2 separate regions of the Homo sapiens genome follow, and region 1 is linked to region 2. Evidence: promoter capture Hi-C in 16 types of primary human blood cells and fetal thymus (Javierre and others, 2016). All regions are on one chromosome and are shown on one strand. Each heading gives the region's core, a stretch centred on a gene start or on the middle of the fragment in contact. The rest is flanking DNA. Distances are from core to core; before and after follow the strand shown. Region 1 overlaps RNF214 (ring finger protein 214). Region 2 holds the start of APOA4 (apolipoprotein A4).

The links. The method cuts DNA at HindIII sites, captures the fragments that hold promoters and counts their contacts. A CHiCAGO score of 5 or more calls a contact.
Region 1: a contact is called between a fragment that was not itself captured here and the fragment with the promoter of APOA4 in region 2, in 1 of 17 cell types (naive CD8 T cells). The highest score is 6.3, in naive CD8 T cells.

The regions. Positions count from the first base shown.
Region 1 is chr11:117,247,935-117,253,102 of GRCh38, forward strand. All of the region lies in intron 6 of RNF214 (ring finger protein 214), which reads left to right. Among named protein-coding and RNA genes, the nearest start is that of RNF214, 18 kb to the left of the region's middle. The HindIII fragment of the contact is 9,181 bases long and covers 1-5,168 here.
Region 2 is chr11:116,822,054-116,827,180 of GRCh38, forward strand. APOA4 (apolipoprotein A4) reads right to left here and starts at 1,251. Exons shown (of 3, transcript NM_000482.4): 1 at 1,090-1,251; 2 at 606-732. The coding sequence starts at 1,138. RefSeq lists enhancers at 3,239-3,605, 3,460-3,754. The HindIII fragment of the contact is 18,172 bases long and covers 1-5,127 here.

The sequences.
Region 1 (5,168 bases), core at 2,333-4,832, 430 kb after region 2:
CAGCATCCAAAGTAAATTTCAAACAGTAACATTGTAAGCTGTTTGTGAAAGAATTATTTAGAGGATTTGTGTCCTTTTCTGGGTACTGCAGAAAAAGCAAAGTGGGCATAGAATTTGGTCAGCTTCTCAATTTTCTAAGTTTCTTTTTTTTCTTTTTTTGAGACGGAGTCTTGCTCTGTTCCCCAGGCTGGAGTGCAGTGGCACGATCTCAGCTCACTGCAAGCTCCACCTCCCGGGTTCACGCCATTCTCCTGCCTCAGCCTCCTGAGTAGCTGGGACTACAGGCGCCCGCCACCATGCCTGGCTAACATTTTTGTATTTTTAGGAGAGACGGGGTTTCACCGTGTTAGCCAGGATGGTCTCGATCTCCTGACCTCATGATCCGCCTGCCTCGGCCTCCCAAAGTGCTGGGATTACAGGCATGAGCCACCGCGCCCAGCCAATTTTCTAAGTTTCTTAAAATGACCTGTTTGGAAATCATAATAGCTGTGAATACTCGGTTGATTTTATTTAAATTCTACCAAAATGTTTTTTGTTTATCAAAAAAATTTTGGCTTTTGCTAATGCGTCAGACTGCTGAGTTAGCAAGCTCATGTGCTGAATCATTTTCTGAGTCTCCAAGATAATAATTGTGAAGCTCAACATGAGGAATTGTGTTTGAGAGAGGGCTTGTAGACCAATCAGTTGTTCTGTTGAGAATCTAGTGATACTGAATGATTAGAAGGTGGGTCAGTTGTCTATAATGATAATTTTCCAGAAATTATGAGGAGTGTACCTGGAATAGAACATTATCCCAGCCACTGTTAGTGATCAAAGCAGTTGCTCCCACCCCATGACATGGTCTCTGCCATTGTCTTCACAATCTGTGTGAGGAAGATGACCATAGGCATGTAGCAACTTAACAGGAGATATTAAAGTGCAGAAACTGGGAAGATGAGTCTATAATGTTATTCTAAGCCCCGCAGAAAATTTCCTTTTGATGTGTGTTCTTTACATTCTTTTTTTTTTTGAGACAGTCTTGCTCTGTTGCCCAGGCTGGAGTGCAGTGGCGCAATCTCGGCTCATGCAAGCTCCACCTCCCGGGTTCAAGTGATTCTTTTGCCTCAGTCACCTGAGTATCTGGGATTACAGGCGAGTGCCATCATGCCCAGATAATTTTTTAAATTTTTTTATAGAGATGAGAATCTCACTCGTTGACCAGGCTAATCTCAAACTTCTGGCTTCAAGCGATCCACCTGCCTTGGCCTCCCAAAGTGCTGGGATTACAGGTGTGAGCTACCGTGCCCAGCCTTTTTTTAATTTTTAATTTTTATTGTTTTTTACCTTCAACAAACTCACTTTTACTCTTTACATTCTTTATGTAACTCTACTACCTTTTCCATCTGATTGAATTGCTACAGATGGTGATTGATACTAATAATTTTGGTGTTTGTGTTCTTGAAGATCCATTTTTTTTCTTTAAATGTATATGTCACGGTGTGAGAATAATGTTTTCTGCCATTCTTTCTGTTAAATGTGGGGTTCAGTTTTCCGGAAGCAGGGGGAATGTCTCTTGTAGGTATCTTTGTTCTAGCAGTGGTGTAGGTTCTGCTTAGCATTCCATCATTCATAGGAACCGGGACACATAGATTTTGGTCATTATATTATTCACCTTGGCCTGCCATAACAGAATACCACTGACTACGTGGCTTAAACAGCAGAATATTTTACAGTTCTTGGAGGCTGGAAATCCGACATAAAGATGCTGGCAGGTTTGGTTTCTGGTGAGAATCTTTTCCTGGTTTGCCGACAGCTGCCTTCTTCTGGTCTCACATGGCTTTTGTGCTATGCATGCACATTCCTGGTGTCTCTTCCTCTTATAAGGACACCAATTCTATTGGATTAGGTTCCCACTTTATGACTTCATTTAACCATAATTGCCTCCTTCAAGGCCCTGTATCCAAATACAATTACACTGGGGTTAGGGCTTCAAGATACGAGTTTTAAGGGGCACAATTCAGTCCATAACAATTGTATTTCCTGTTTATAGTGTTTTCATTCATTTGTTCAGCCAGCATTTATTGAGTATCTACTATGAGCCAGACAGTAGGGCCTGGAGAGTAAAAAGTCTTCAAAGAGATTACTGTTTATTGTGAGAGACATAGATAAACAGATGATTGCAAAATAGTGTAATGATACCATGACAGTGGTGGTATGAAAGCATCTGAAAGAGGCATATAACCCATACTGGGTAGGGGGAGTCACAGAGGGCTTCCCAGGGAATATCATTCCAGAACTGAGTCCTGAAAAATAAGGGGCAGAAGATAACCACCAAATGAAATGCATGATCCTTGGTTTGATCCTGAATTAAACAAAGTATAATTATAGGACATTTTGGAATAATTGGGAAAATTTCAATAGTGACTACGTGTTAAGTAATACTGTGTCAGTGTTATGTATTTTGGGTGTATAAACCCATGTTGTTGAAAAAAGTTTAAGAAATTAAAAAAATATTTTACATGTGATTATGACATTGTTTCATTATGTAGAAGGATGTTCTTGTTCATAAGAGATACTTGCTGAAGTTTTAGGAGTTAAGTGTCATGATGTAAATGTGGCAAAAAAAATGCAACAACTGGTAAATTTAGATGACAGGTAGACATTCATTTTATTATTTTTATTTATTTATTTATTTATTTTTTTTTTAATTTTTTTTTTTTATTGATCATTCTTGGGTGTTTCTCGCAGAGGGGGATTTGGCAGGGTCACAGGACAATAGTGGAGGGAAGGTCAGCAGATAAACAAGTGAACAAAGGTCTCTGGTTTTCCTAGGCAGAGGACCCTGCGGCCTTCCGCAGTGTTTGTGTCCCTGGGTACTTGAGATTAGGGAGTGGTGATGACTCTTAACGAGCATGCTGCCTTCAAGCATCTGTTTAACAAAGCACATCTTGCACCGCCCTTAATCCATTCAACCCTGAGTGGATACAGCACATGTTTCAGAGAGCACAGGGTTGGGGGTAAGGTCACAGATCAACAGGATCCCAAGGCAGAAGAATTTTTCTTAGTACAGAACAAAATGAAAAGTCTCCCATGTCTACCTCTTTCTACACAGACACGGCAACCATCCAATTTCTCAATCTTTTCCCCACCTTTCCCCCCTTTCTATTCCACAAAACCGCCATTGTCATCATGGCCCGTTCTCAACGAGCTGTTGGGTACACCTCCCAGACGGGGTGGTGGCCTGGCAGAGGGGCTCCTCACTTCCCAGTAGGGGCGGCCGGGCAGAGGCGCCCCGCACCTCCCGGACGGGGCGGCTGGCCGGGCGGGGGGCTGACCCCGCTGACCCCCCCACCTCCCTCCGGGACGGGGCGGCTGGCCGGGCAGAGGGGCTCCTCACTTCCCAGTAGGGGCGGCCGGGCAGAGGCGCCCCTCACCTCCCGGACGGGGCGGCTGGCCGGGCGGGGGGCTGACCCCCCCACCTCCCTCCCGGACGGGGCGGCTGGCCTGGCGGGGGGCTGACCCCCCCACCTCCCTCCCGGACGGGGCGGCTGGCCGGGCGGGGGGCTGACCCCCCCACCTCCCTCCCGGACGGGGCGGCTGGCCGGGCGGGGGGCTGACCCCCCCACCTCCCTCCCGGACGGGGCGGCTGGCCGGGTCATTTTATTATTTTATTAACTTTTTCTTGGTTTGAAATTTTCGAAGAAAAAGTAGCAGGGGTCAGGGTAGGTATAGGGAAGAATTAGCCAGGCAACAAATGAAGGAAAAGACACTGCCGGCAGGGGGCTCAGAGATGTGAGAGAAAAGCAAGCAAGACGTGAAGTGGGGGAGTGAGGCCAGATCAGAAAGGCTTTTATACTGTGTTAAGGAGTTTGGGTTTTTCCATGATAGAGATATTGAAGGATTTTAAGGGAGGAGAGTATCAAATGATACAATTTGCATTTTATTTTTATTTTATTTTACTTTTTCATTTTTTGAGACAGAGTCTCACTCTGTTGCCCAGGCAGGAGTGCAGTGGCACGATCTTGGCTCACTGCAACCTCCACTTCCTGTGTTCAAGTGATTCTCCTGCCTCAGCCTCCTGAGTAGCTGGAACTACAGGCCTGTGCCACCACGCCCGACTAATTTTTGTATTTTTAGTAGAGACGAGGTTTCACCATGTTGGCCAGGCTAGTCTTGAACACCTGACCTCAAGTGATGTGCCCGCCTTGGCCTCCCAAAGTTCTGGGATTACAGGTGTGAGCCATCCTGCCTGGCCTATGATTTGCATTTTCAGTAGATTACTTGGGCAGTTGGAAAATGGATTGGATTAGTGTATTTGACCAGTTAGGAGACTTATCTTGTCAGAGCCTAGGTTAGCATAATTATGGCTGAAACTAAAGTAGTGCCAGTGGGAATGAGAGAAGTGAACACATTTGTAAGACATTTAGGGGCAGCACTGATCAATGTGGGTAGACAGGGTTGAGTTAGGGATAACTCCCATATTTCTGGCTTGGAAAATTAGGGAAATAATGGGATTCTTTGATAAGATGTCTTATCTGTCTTATACGTTTTAACTTAAATTCTGCCTTCTTTGCAAAATTGCCTGTGCCATTTCTTTATGAACTGAATCTGAATTTTTTTTTTTTGAGACGGAGTCTTGCTTTGTCGCCCAGGCTGGAGCGCAGTGGCGTGATCTTGGTTCACTGCAGTCTCCACCTCCCGGATTCAAGCGATTCTCCTGCCTCAGCCTCCCGAGTAGCTGGGACTACATGTGCCTGCCACCACGCCCAGCTCATTTTTTGTATTTTTAGTAGAGACGGGGTTTCACTGTGTTAGCCAGGATGGTCTCGCTCTCCTGACCTCCTGTTCCGCCCGCCTTGGCCTCCCAAAGTGCTGGGATTACAGGCATGAGCCGCCTCACCTGGCCTGAAATTTTTTTTAATGTTTTATTCTTTTAGTGCCATATATCTGGTAATTATTTGATAAGTGTTTATTCTATCACTGGATTGGAAATTAAGGGAATTTCACATTAATATTAATTAAAGATGAATTTACTTAATAGAAATCTGCTAAGTGCTTTGTACTATTTGAAGGTAGTCACTATGTATTTCAATGTAATTATAATTTTTTTATTTTTAGAAACAGGATCTCACTCTGTTGGCCCAGCTAGAGTGTAGTGGTACAGTCATGGCTCACTAAAGCCTTGAACT
Region 2 (5,127 bases), core at 1-2,500:
CTAAGTTACGATGCTGAATTTCTATCTCAGGATCTCCCACATAGTTTGTCTCAGAATCTACCCACCATGTCACCTCCAGCAGTTTGCTTTCCCCTCCTTGTCTGCAGAGGGTGGGACTTTGAGGTCCTTCCCAGAGGGAGTGTTCTGGGCCATAGGATCACATTGTGTAACACAATGTTGTCTTCTTGACCTCTGCTGGGGTCTTCCAGTGGCACAAGGTGCTGCTTTCCTTGCCTGTGCCCAGGGGCCTCCCAAATATTCCCACCTCCCTCCCCTTGATTCCACTGGGGCCTGTCTTTCTGAAACGTATTAGAAATCAGCTCACGTGACATTTTCCTCCCTCCCTCTCTTCCATGAGCCTGAATGATAGGATGTGGCCATTTGTCAAACTCTAGAACGTCAAAGCAAAAGGACATGGCAGGGATTATTCGGTCCAAACTTCCGGTTTACATATGTGGATCCTAGGTTCAGAGGCCCGGCCAGTTAGTGGCAGGGCAGTGGGTATCCTAAGCTCAGGGCTCCTGTCTCTAAGCTCAACCCTTGCCAGTACATTGCATGGCCTTTAAGAATTCCCCGTCACCACCGCACACTGTAGTCCCTCTTACTTGAGTTGCTGGGTGAGTTCAGATTTCTGGAGATGTTCCACGGCCTCCTTGGCATTGTTGCTCAGCTGGCTGAAGTAGTCCCACATCACCGTGGCCACCTGGTCAGCACTGACCTCAGCCCTGGCTCCTGGGTGGTAACAGAGAGCAATTCATGAGGCCCCGTCTCCTGTGTGGCCCCTCTGCTCCAGCTCTGAGCTGCAGACTGGATGATGGTGGGGGTGCCTCAACCTGCCATTTTCCCTGTCTGAGCTTAGCTTTTTGGAAGCCACAGGGATATGTGAAACTGGTATAGCACCAATGCCAATGGGCCCACCACTGGGACTGGGCCAGCTCTCCTGTGAGCCACTTGGCAGCCAGGCAGACCTCATGTCCAGCTGGGGGCTGATGGGCACTCAGAAGTGTCCTTTTGCTTTGGCTCAGCCTCCATCCTGCACTACTCAGAGCAGCAGCCCAGGAGTGCCATCCAAAGACAGCTTCTACTCACCGGCGACAGCCACCAGGGCCAGGGTCAGGACCACGGCCTTCAGGAACATCCTGAGCTGCTTGCTGGGCTGGAGGAGTTTCTTGCCACACTGGATCCTCCCTACAATCAGGGGAGCTGACAGAGAGGTCCTCAGGAGAGCTCACCTGCGCTGCAGTGGGAACTGACTGAAGCTCAGAGCCAGCCAGACATTTAAACTCTCTCCCTATCGCCACCCCCCTGGCTGCCCTCCCCTCCTCCTTCCTCAGTGTGACTCCACGCTGGAAGGTGACACATTCCCAAGAGGCCTCTTGGACTTTTGTGACCCTGAGACTACGTGGAAGCTGACAGCAGATCAGGGCTCAGGCGATAGTTAGAAGTGGTGGCTGTTCCGTGCGTGGGCACCCCCACCCCCACCCCACCAACCTCAGCATGGAAGGGAGGAGGGGAACGGAAAACAGTAGGAGAAACACCTCAGGGAGCCCATGAGCCCGGGACTGATGCCTCGAGGCCCTGCTGGCGGCTCTGGGTTTGTGCCGGGCTCATGGGGGGCAAAGTCCACATCTCCTCTGTCTACCCCAGTGAAGACAGGTCCCCCCAGTCTCCACATCCGCCACTAATGCTGACTCCATCTCAGAGCACCAGACACTGGAGTGGGACCATCCAGGACTGCAGACAGCATAGTGAGCTAAAATCTAGGTCTCTTGTCAAGGTACACCCAAGAGGAGGGGGCCCTGGAGAGCCTTTGGGCAGATGGGTGTGGGAGACAGGGCCTTGTCCTGAAAGGGTTAATTGTAGAGTGCTTCATGTCCCACTCCCATGCTGTGCCTCCTTGGTCTAGTTATTCAAAGCCCTGAGCTTCAGTTTCTCCTCTGAACAATGGGATGGTTCAGTACATTAAAGAAGACATTGCTTGCGAAGTGGGTAGTACGGTCATCTCTCAGTCTCCATGGGAAATTGATTCCAGGACCCTCTGCAGATACCAAAATCCATGGATGTTCAAGTCCTTGATATAAAATGGCATAGTATTTGCATATAACCTAAGCACAGCCTCCCACATACTTTAAATCTCTAGATTACTTATAATACCTAATACGACGGAAATGCTGTGTGAATGGTTGTTATACTGTATTGTTTAGGAGGTAATCACCAAAAAAGTCTGTATATGTTTAGTACAGGTGCAATTTTTTTTTTTTTTGAGATGGAGTCTTACTCTGTCACCCAGGCTGGAGTGCAGTGGCACGATCTTAGCTCACTGCAATCTCTGCCCCCCAGGTTCAAGTGATTCTCCTGCCTCAGCCTCCTGAGTAGCTGGGATTACAGGCACCCACCACCACGCCCAGCTAATTTGTGTATTTACAGCAGAGACGGGGTTTCACCATGTTGCTCAGGCTGGTCTCCAACTCCTGGCCTCAAGCAATCCTCCCATGTGGGCCTCCCAAAGTGCTGGGCTTATAGGCGTGAGCCACTGCGCCCTGCCCAGATGCAATTTTTTTAAAACATTGTTTTTAATGGAGATGGGGTGTCGCTATGTTGCTCAGGCTGGTCTCCAACTCCTGGCCTTAAGTGATCCTCCAATCTCTGCCTCCTAAAATGCTGGGCTTACAGGCATGAGCCACTGCACCCGGCCCACAGATGCAATTTAAAAAAAAAAATATATATATATATATATATATATTTTTTTTTTTTTTTTTTTTTTTGAGATGGAGTCTTGCTCTGTCACCCAGGCTGGAGTGCAGTGGCACGATCTCGGCTCACTGCAAGCTCTGCCTCCCGGGTTCACGCCATTCTCCTGCCTCAGCCTCCCAAGTAGCTGGGACCATAGGCGCCCGCCACCACGCCCGGCTAATTTTTTTTTTTTTTTTTGTATTTTTAGTAGAGATGGGGTTTCGCCGTGTTAGCCAGGATGGTCTCGATCTCCTGACCTCGTGATCCGCCCGCCTCAACCTCCCAAAGTGCTGAGATTACAGGCGTGAGCCACCACGCCCGGCCTAAAAAATTATTTTCAATCCAAGGTTGGTTGAATCCATGGACACAGAAACCAAGGATACAGAGGGCTGCCTATAGAGCTCCTGGCACAGAGTAAGCTCTGAAAAATAGTTGCTGTTATTATAATAATCATACTGTATAATAATCATACTGTGTTCCTGATTTGGAGCAAAGCAGGGAGGGTAGCAGAGTGCTCCCTCCTCTAGTGAGAGTGGCAGAGTGAGACTCAGCCCTCTGAGGGGCGCCAGGTGGGCCAGAGGCAGGGTGATGGGTGGGACCAGCCTGAGGCCTGACTCCTGCCCTTCTTGCCCCCCAGCCACACTCCCTGGGCAGGAGCAGCTGGCTTGAGCAGAATCTTGGGACCTGAGGCTCTCAGGGGACCTCCCATTGGGGGATGGAGGGCAATGGTGGTGGTGCCCAGGAGGTCTTCTACTTAGATGTCTATTGGATCTCTAAATGAGGCTGCATGCATAATCACACACAAACATCCACTGAGAAGGTGACACACCACGTCAGCATGGGTCCCTCTGCCGGACCACACCACTCCTAGTGACTATGAGGTGACATCCAGGCACGTTGCACTATTGGCTCCTGTCGGTGAGTGCAGTGCCTGACAACAGTGAGCTACATTTATTTGTAAAAATGAACGCCATCAGAGTAGACCACAATTGTACTAACTCTAATTTGCTTTGTGTTCATTTTTTCAGTTTCCAGAAGTGGCTTAATGTTTCCTAGGGTCAAAGGCAGTCAAATGACCTCCTGACTCTGGCACCCCTTCTGCTGGGTCCCCACTGCCCTGTAGTGGTCCCCACGCTACCATGCTGCCTCCTTTTTGATGCAGCCTGTGCCATCTCTCCGTGATTGTTGGGGTCAGATGCTGGAGTCCACTCCCTGGCTTGGCATCCAGGCTCCAACACGTACTGCCTGTGTGTCCTTGGGCAAGTCTCATAACCTCTCTGAGCCTCAGTTACCTTGGTGAGACATAACCATTGTACCTGCCTCCTAGGCTGTGAGGATTCACTGAGATGATCTTATAGTGCTTGCAACAATGTCTGGCACATAGGAAAAGTGATCACTAAATGTTAGCCACGTCTTACTCCTGCAAGGCTCACCTCCCTGGAACCCATCGGTCCCAACCCTGCTCCTGAATCAGGCACAGTCCAGCTTGCAGCGGGAGCAAAGGTCAGTACTCAGTGCCCCTGTCCCTTCCCCAGGCCAGAGGGGAGGAGGAGACTGAGTCACGAATGACACCTCAGCCGCAGTTTGACCTCCAGGACTTACAGTCCTAGCAGCCGGTGCCACTAGCATGTGAGAGGTCCAGAGGCGCTTCTGTCTCACCCGCCCGCCTGGGTGCACCCATGCTGGGAGCGCCTGCACCATTTGAGCATGTCCGAGAGCATCCACCAGAGTGTGTGTGGATTCACAGAAGTGTGCAAATCACTAAGAACCAAGGGACTGGCACAGCCCATGCGTGCACCCACGCTCGCGAGGGGACCTGCTGCCTTTCAACGTGGCGGGGACGTGACCTGTTAATGAATGTATTTACTTCCCAAAGTCTGAGGGTACGTTTTGCATCAATCTGTAGATGGATTTGTTTTGGGGAGCAGGGAGAGAATGAGAGCCCCCTGTGCTCAGTCTTAGAGGGTGCAAGTAGCTGATGGGAAGAGCAGACTGCCTTCCAGCCAGGCCTGGTCCTGTGAGTCAGGGACGTCCATCTTAGTGGGCATGAAAGGCCTGTGTGATCTCGAGGGAGACATCGCCTCTCCAAGCCTCTCCTTATCTGTGCAACAGGCAGACTTAATGATTGGTGAGGCAATGAGGCTGATAGCTCAGCATTAGCTACAGCCACCCCTCCTGGCCAACCACACAGGGATCAAACCAGGGGTCAGTCCAGAGGTCAGAGTCAGGAGCAGACAACTCAGATCCAGCCAGGGACAGGCAGGTCACACGGACATGTGCCTCACGTATGCTTCAAGGGGCCCTCCCCCGGGCAGAACTGAAGGACAGCTCCTGTTGCCATAGGAGGGAGCTGGGTGAGATACTAGGAGGAACTTCCGGCATGATGATGTGTGA